Linked DNA regions of Homo sapiens: region 1 is linked to region 2. Evidence: promoter capture Hi-C in human tissues and cell types (Jung and others, 2019). All regions are on one chromosome and are shown on one strand. The core of a region is centred on a gene start or on the middle of the fragment in contact, and the rest is flanking DNA. Distances in the headings are between cores, read along the strand shown. Region 1 overlaps VRK1 (VRK serine/threonine kinase 1). Region 2 holds the start of ATG2B (autophagy related 2B).

The links. The method cuts DNA at HindIII sites, captures the fragments that hold promoters and counts their contacts. A contact is called where the count stands out against the background at its distance.
Region 1: a contact is called between a fragment that was not itself captured here and the fragment with the promoter of ATG2B in region 2, in 1 of the 25 tissues and cell types used here (mesendoderm cells).

Annotation. Positions count from the first base shown.
Region 1 is chr14:96,821,573-96,825,109 of GRCh38, reverse strand. All of the region lies in intron 1 of VRK1 (VRK serine/threonine kinase 1), which reads right to left. Among named protein-coding and RNA genes, the nearest start is that of VRK1, 26 kb to the right of the region's middle. The HindIII fragment of the contact is 4,580 bases long and covers 1-3,537 here.
Region 2 is chr14:96,360,991-96,364,875 of GRCh38, reverse strand. ATG2B (autophagy related 2B) reads left to right here and starts at 1,535. Exons shown (of 42, transcript NM_018036.7): 1 at 1,535-2,061. The coding sequence starts at 1,900. GSKIP (GSK3B interacting protein) reads right to left here and starts at 1,350. Exons shown (of 4, transcript NM_016472.5): 1 at 1,308-1,350. RefSeq lists a silencer at 1,078-1,427 and enhancers at 629-1,449, 1,370-1,664, 2,906-2,975. The HindIII fragment of the contact is 16,004 bases long and covers 1-3,885 here.

The sequences.
Region 1 (3,537 bases), core at 216-2,715, 460 kb before region 2:
TCACCTTTGCTTTGGATCCCATCCCCTCCAACCTTCTCAAGACTTACACTATTAATTAATCCTTCTCTAATATATTCAATGTCTCCCTCAACTAGATCCTTCCCATCAGCTATTAAAAATGCTTATGGCTCTGCCATTTTAAAAAATTAATGTTTTTGGCCGGGTGCGGTGGCTCACACCTGTAATCTCAGCACTTTGGGAGGCCGAGGCGGGTGGATCACGAGGTCAGGAGATCGAGACCATCCTGGCTAACATGGTGAAATCCCGTCTCTACTAAAAATACAAAAAATAAGCCAGGCGTGGTGGTGGATGCCTGTAGTCCCAGCTACTCGGGAGACTGAGGCAGGAGAATGGTGTGAACCCAGGAGGCAGAGCTTGCAGTGAGCCGAGACGGCGCCACTGCACTCCAGGCTGGGCGACAGAGGGAAAAAAAAAAAAAAAAAATTAATGTTTTTAATCCCCCTCTGCTATCTCTGCTATCATCCTTTCTTTTCCCTTTCAATGCCAAATGTCTGTACTTGCCATTTCAATAATCGTCTGTACTTGCCAATATTTCCTTTCACCTACTTATCCAACTCACTCCGAGATCCGCCTTCATGATTCCTCTCTAATAACCCTTGCTGAGGTCACCAGTGACTTCCATGCTATGAAATCTAGCTGACACTGAATCATCTCATTTGCCTGCCCAGAAGCACTCAACACTGCTCATTCTTTCTTTCTTGAAACATTCTCTTCCTTTTGCTTTCAAAATACAGTAGTATCCTGGATTCCAGTCTACCATTTAGGCTACTCACAGTCCTAGGCAATTTGAGGAATACAGTAAATTCTTTTTTCAAGATGAAATGAGCTTTCATTCAGGGAGCTTGTTCCACTTTATCATATACAGTTTTCCAGGGTTTTATCATGTTAAAAAAGCAGACCACCTACATTTCCACAGCTTACACCAAAATACAAATTTTATTATGTGAAAATAAATTATATATTTAAAAATGTGCTACTCAATAAAATTAAGATCTTTGGAAATTCAGGACATTTATTTGAAAAAATAATTGATGTTTATTCCTTTAAGTTAACAGATCTCTAGGAAAAAGTTTGTAGTCTCAAAGAGGTATCTGTACACCCATGTGCACAGCAGCACTATCCACAATAATAGTAAAAGGTGGAAGCAACCTGAGTGTCCATTAACAGATGAATGAATAAATGTGGCATGTATATACAATGGAATATTATTCAGCCTTGAAAAATAGAAGTAAATTCTGACACACACTACACCACAGATGAATCTTGAGGACAGTTATGCTAAGTGAAATAAGCCAGAGGCTGGAGGGAGGGAGAAAAGAGAGTTGTTGTTTAGTGGTATATAGAGTTTCGAATTTGCAAATTAAGTTCTAGAGATCTGCTTCACAACAATATGAATACACTTAACGCTACTGTGTACACTTAAAAATGGTTAAGATGGGAAATCTTCTATGTTTCTTATCACAATTTTTTAAAAAAGAAAACAGTTTCTAGATGCAGCAGATAAAAAAGGCAGAAATTAAGTTGAATCAAGATAATACCAACGTGTTCCTGATGACTACAGAATCATTCCTGCCCCCATACACACACAACTGGAAAAGCATTACAATTGGTATTTTTTTCAGAGGTTATTCTTATAGATGCTAATTACATAAATCTACTAGTTATCACAGCAATAAATAAATGTTAACTGTGGATTATGTAAATTCATGAAGGGTAATGACATAGTCTGTTCATTCACTCACTCTACAAATAGTCACTGATAATCTACAATGTGCCAAGCACTGTTCTAGGCACTTGCTATACCTCAAGGAACAAAACAAAGGTCCTTCTCTTTTGACACATTCTGGCAGGAAGAGACAGATAAAAAGAACAAATAATGCATATGTTACCTAATATTTCAGAAAATCCAGTCATGTTTTAAAAACATAAAGCAGGTAAAGGGAGATAGAGGATAGGGAGTAGAAGGTAGAAGGGGAAAGCTTGCAGTGAAACAGAGTGGTCATGGTCAGCCTCCTCTGAAAGGACTTTGCTCATTGGAACAAGGACTTGAAGGAGTTGAGGAAGAGGACCATGTGAGTATCTGGGCAGAGAGTATAGGCAGAGGGACGAGTTGTGCAAAGACCCTAAGGTGGGAGCACACCTGGCAACCAAAGAGTAAGAATGCCAGTGTGGCTGGTGTGGCGTGAGCAAGGGGGAAGCAGGAGATCAAGTCCCAAAGGTTAGCACAGGAGCAAGAGATCAAGTAGGGCCTTGAAGGCTACTGTCAGGACTCTGAATTTCACCACAGGGTAAATGGATTTCTACAAGGTTTGGAACTTGCTGTATACTTGCATTGTAGTTCACAACACTTCAATCAAATTGAAAATCATGCACTGAACACCTAAGTCAAGAAAAATTCTCCTGCTGACTTAATTCTCACCAAAGATTTTACATTTGTTATATTTTTTGCTAATGTGTTAGTCCATTCTAAAAATACATTCCATCTATAAACTATATAAGCTTGATACAAATCCAAAATGTTAAGTGCTTCTGTAGTGCCTCTGTCACAAGTCACCTCACGATAGGAATGGTTTTGCAATGAATCAAATTCTGTGCCTAAAAAGTAGAGAATAGGACTAGACCCTATTTTCCCTTTAATGTAAATATCAGTAATTTAGTAGTGCTATTAGAGTGAATGGTCTGCAACTTTTTGACAAGAAATACAAAAACTTTACCATGCTACACCCCTCTTAAAATTTAAAATAAAAACAATACTGAGTCCCATTGGAATTCTACATTATTACAATACATACTGCCTGCTTAATTAATTTGTTTACTCAACAAGTATTTATTGACAGCACACTCTGTGCAGGAACTGTTCTACAAGACAAGAATAAAAAGTGAACAAAGCAGACAAAAACTCCTGCCTTCATGGAGCTTATATTTTATTCAGTAGAGAAAAATAATTTTCTAAAAATTAAAACATGTCATATGTCCAATGGTATAAGGGCTAAGGAAAAAAAAAAAAAGGCAGGGACAGGGAGTTGGGGGCGGGAGGGAATGAAATTTAAAAAGATGGTCTGGTAAAGCCTCACAAGAAAGTGACATTTAAGCAAAAACTTGTTAAAAAAAAAAAAAAAGTGAGAGAATCTAGCCACACAGATGCTCTAGAGGAATAGCATCCCACATTGAGGGAGGAGCGACTACAAAGGCGTTAAGGCAAGAACATGTCCAGCTTGTTCTAGAAACAGCAAGGGGACTGGTGCAGCTGAGGAAGAATTAGCCAGGGGAGAGCAATGGCTGGGGTCAGATGTAAAGAAGCACAGAGGTGGAGAACATGCCCAACACTCAGGCTATTGTAAGGACTTCAACGTTAACTCTGAATGGGGAAATCTTGGAAGGTCTTGAGCAGAGGAGTGTACATGTTCTGACTTGCACTTTGAATGGATCACTCTGGTTGACGCATCAAGAATAGACTGTAAGGGGGCAAGGCAGAAACAGCTACCAGTTATTACAACTGTATTGCTATTGGAAAAA
Region 2 (3,885 bases), core at 286-2,785:
CTCAAAGTCCTGGGCTCAAGCGATCCTTCCGCCTCAGCCTCCACAAGCAGGTACCACCATGCTTCCGTTTTAGAACATAAACTCCTTGAAGGTTCGGCCTGATTCTTGACACTGTTCACATGATCAACTGTGGTGACTTTCATTTAATGGACCTTAACAAATATTTCTGAATGAAGAGCAAGGGAATCTAAGTTACTGAGAATACTTGAGATGAGTCTACAAAGAATGAGGGAAATCAACAATCCAAGCAACTGCATACAAAGTACCCTGGTTCTAAAACGAAAAGGTGGTTGTGGAAAGGGGAACCAGATGTTTCTCCATCTACCAATATTTTGGGCTGTATTTCCAAGGCATTCATGAAAGTTGCCGAGACAGTAAACATTTCACTCCTTAAACTGGTCGTCTTAATTCACTGTGATTAAACAGCTGTATGTTTCAGGACTCTGTTCAGGTTCGTGCCCTACTCATATCATTTAATCTTCCCAACAAATCCATGCACATAAGATTTTAATCCGCTCACACTCGGCAAAGGAGGCAACGTGGGCTCGGGGAGGGCAGTGGCCGCTCAAAGTGGCTGGGCGGCTAATAGGTGTCAGTGCCGGGATTCTAACGAAGGACATCTGGCTTCTGGGCCATAGAACACCCGCACCCAGGCCTTTCGAGGTTGACTTAACTTAACAGCCGGCTCCGCCTCTGCAGGAGTTACCTCCCAAAAGGCAGAAATACGATTGCGCAGACTGCCAGAACAGCCCAAGTTCTTCACCCAGGTTCCGGCGGGGTCAGGAGCCTTTAGCATTTCTCAAGGAATGCAGTTTTGCCCACAGATGCTTCGAAAACCCAAGTTTCCTGATCGTTGCTATGACACACCCAGGATTAAGCGAGCGTATGCGAGAAGCGCTCTGCAAACCGCCAGGCAAACGGCAACGAAGAAGCTGCCTCAGAAACAATACCTGAATGAGGCGGGGGCCGAAGAACTTGCTGACAATGGGCACCGGTCAATGCTCGGGTGCGGGCGGGGATGCTCGAGAAGGGCTCCAGTCCTCCCAGCGGAGACGGCGGAGCCCCAAGTGTGCGTTTCCGGGGCGCCGAGGTCTGAGGGGAGCCGGGAGAGCCAGGCCGGCCAGACCGGCCCCCAGACCCCTCTTAACACGGGCGCGGGGCCCCTGCAGCCTGCCGCCCCTCTCGGCCCAGCCAGCTGCATGGCGTCGCGTCCCCATCCGGAAGGCCTGACGGCCCGCCGGCGCCCCGAGCCCCTAGCCCTTCTCGGGGGCCGCCCCTCGCCCGCAGCCACCCCGGCTGCCGCTCACCTGCGCGCCCGGCGTCCTCTTCTTCCTTCCTCCGGAGGCGACTGGAGCCGACCGGCGGTGCCGCCCCCTCCCTCCCCGCCTTCTTCCGCCCCGCCCCCTCGGAGCCGGAACTGCTCCAGCCCCCGCCCTTCTGCCCGCCTTCCGCGGCCCCAGTGTGGCGTCACTTCCGCCAGCGCCCGGCGGCGCGCCGGGAGTCTGGGTCTCGTGAACGCGCCAGGAGCGTCCCTACAGCCGGGAACGCGCCTCGCGGATGACAACAAATTCGTCGCGCGGCGGCAGTGGCGGTGGCTGCCTCAGCCCCTGCCGCCTCCTCTCGCGCTCTCTTGCACTCTCTCCGAGCCGGTTGGGACCCTCCTCGGAAGTCCCCTGGCCTGGGGCCAGGAGGACCCCTCTGCGTCTTGCCTCCGCCAGGCCCAGCGCGAGCGGTGCGGCGCCGGCGATGGGGTCTCCCTGAGGGACTCCCGGCACCAAATAGGGATGGAGGGGCCGCCCCAGGCTTAGGCCCCGCCGCGGCCTGGAGCCGGAGTCGCTACCCCGAGGCCGGAGCCGTCGCAACCCGCAGCCGCAGTCAGCCCAGCTGCCAGCAGTCACTATGCCTTGGCCGTTTTCGGAGTCCATCAAGAAGAGGGCCTGCCGGTACCTCCTGCAGAGGTACCTGGGCCACTTTCTGCAGGAGAAGCTGAGCCTGGAGCAGCTCAGCCTGGACCTGTACCAAGGCACCGGGTCCCTCGCCCAGGTCCCCTTGGACAAATGGGTAAGAGCTGCCGGCGGCGAGCCGGGCGGGGCTCGCTCCCCTCTTTAGGGCGCTTTGAACCAGTGCCATCCAAGATTGGTGACAGTCAGTCCCTCCTTGGGAATTGTTTGGACCCGAGTGTGACACGGCTCAGAGAAATGTGTTAGAGTGTTGTTTAATCTGTTTCTAACAAGTTTGCTCTCCTAAATCACGTGTTCCGGAAACTTTAACAGATGTAATGGAATCTACACTGTGGGAATAATTGAGTCAGTGCTTCGGGGGTCTGTGAAGCAGGCTCAATAGGTCCGTGGGAGGAGGTGACCAGAACTGTCCCTCGGGATGTGAGGGGCCGCAGGGTTTTGTGGCAAACAAACCCTGCCTTGTGGGATGACATTCTGGAAGGATTAAGGATGAAGAGGACCTTTGGATGTCAGAATCCCTAGTTATTTGTTTTGGGTTGGCTGCTTGCGCACCATGTTTGCCTTGTTTGTCATCGTGCAGCGTTTGCCATCTGGAAGAAAGTTAGGTGAAGGCCTCTTGTGCCGGTTTGCCTGCTTTTGCTTGATTATATGTTTACAAGATAGGTTTGTGTATCCAGCCTGTGAATGGTCGTCTGGCCCTAGTAGTGCTGTTGAGTTATGCCTCTTTGCTCCACGTGACAGATCGTAAAAGCAGGTGTTGCAAAAGCGCTGAAGTTGCAATTTTCAGACATTTTAAAACCTGCCTTCTACTTGTCATCTAGAGGCTGTGAATTCACTCATTGCTATACAGGTGCTTCATCTGAATTTCGACTCACCACATGCAGTCGTACCTGCATTTGTGTGTTCAATGCATAGCATTTTACTTAAAGTATATTCACTTTTGGGTTTGACAGGAATAGAGTGACTTCTACCCTTTGCCCAACCCTTACTTCCTTAGCCACAGAAAATCTTAAATTATGGAAATACCTTATTATGACCCTTAAGCGAATTTGTGCTAGAGACTATAAATCAGTATATAATTTTATCAGTATGTACCTGACATAAACTAGGGAGAGGACACAAGATAGTGGAAAGAGCCCTGGTTTGAGAGCAGTAAGACCCAGTCGCTCACCAGGAGGTGAGAGTCCTACCCCTGGAGAGACTCTCCAGACCGCCACAATTAGCCGAGTGATAATGGACTTAGCAATTCACCTGAGTTCAGTAAACACTAATGGAGCACACACTTCATCTCTGTGTCGTCCGTCTTATGGTATTGTATTCCTGTAATTCTTCCAAAAGATAGGGATTCTGAAGGATATTTTTGAATTCAACAACCCATGATTCTATACTTTTGATACAGTTATGAATAGGTTATCTTGAAAAAAGAGGGTTCAGGATTTATTAATGCCTTTTGTGGGTGGAAGGGCTTTGTATGCATTATCCTTTAATGACTTTAACCCTATAAGGTGGGCATTAATATTTCCATTTTACAGATGGAGTTAAGCAGTTTGCCCCATCACACATCTAGCAAGTATTACATCACATGGCCTAAGATCAAAAGAAAGGCAGTTAATGTTTATTGAGTATGTATTTATGTCAGGCATTGTACTAGGCACTTTCATTTGTGAGGTTTTATTTAGTCCTTATGGGAAATCAGAGGTAGTGATATTTGAATTTTATAGTTTGAGTTCAGAATCATTGGCAAAATGATTTATTACTAAACTTAATCTGAGGATGATGTTTTGTTCTTGATGGGCGGGTTTTGTAAACTAAAATGATAATGTCAAAGCATCCAGTAAACATTTGCTGTTGCTGATTTATTTTCATGTGCTGTGTTGATGGTTAGGATAAATCTTAGTGTGACCCTTAGATACAGCTGTTCAGA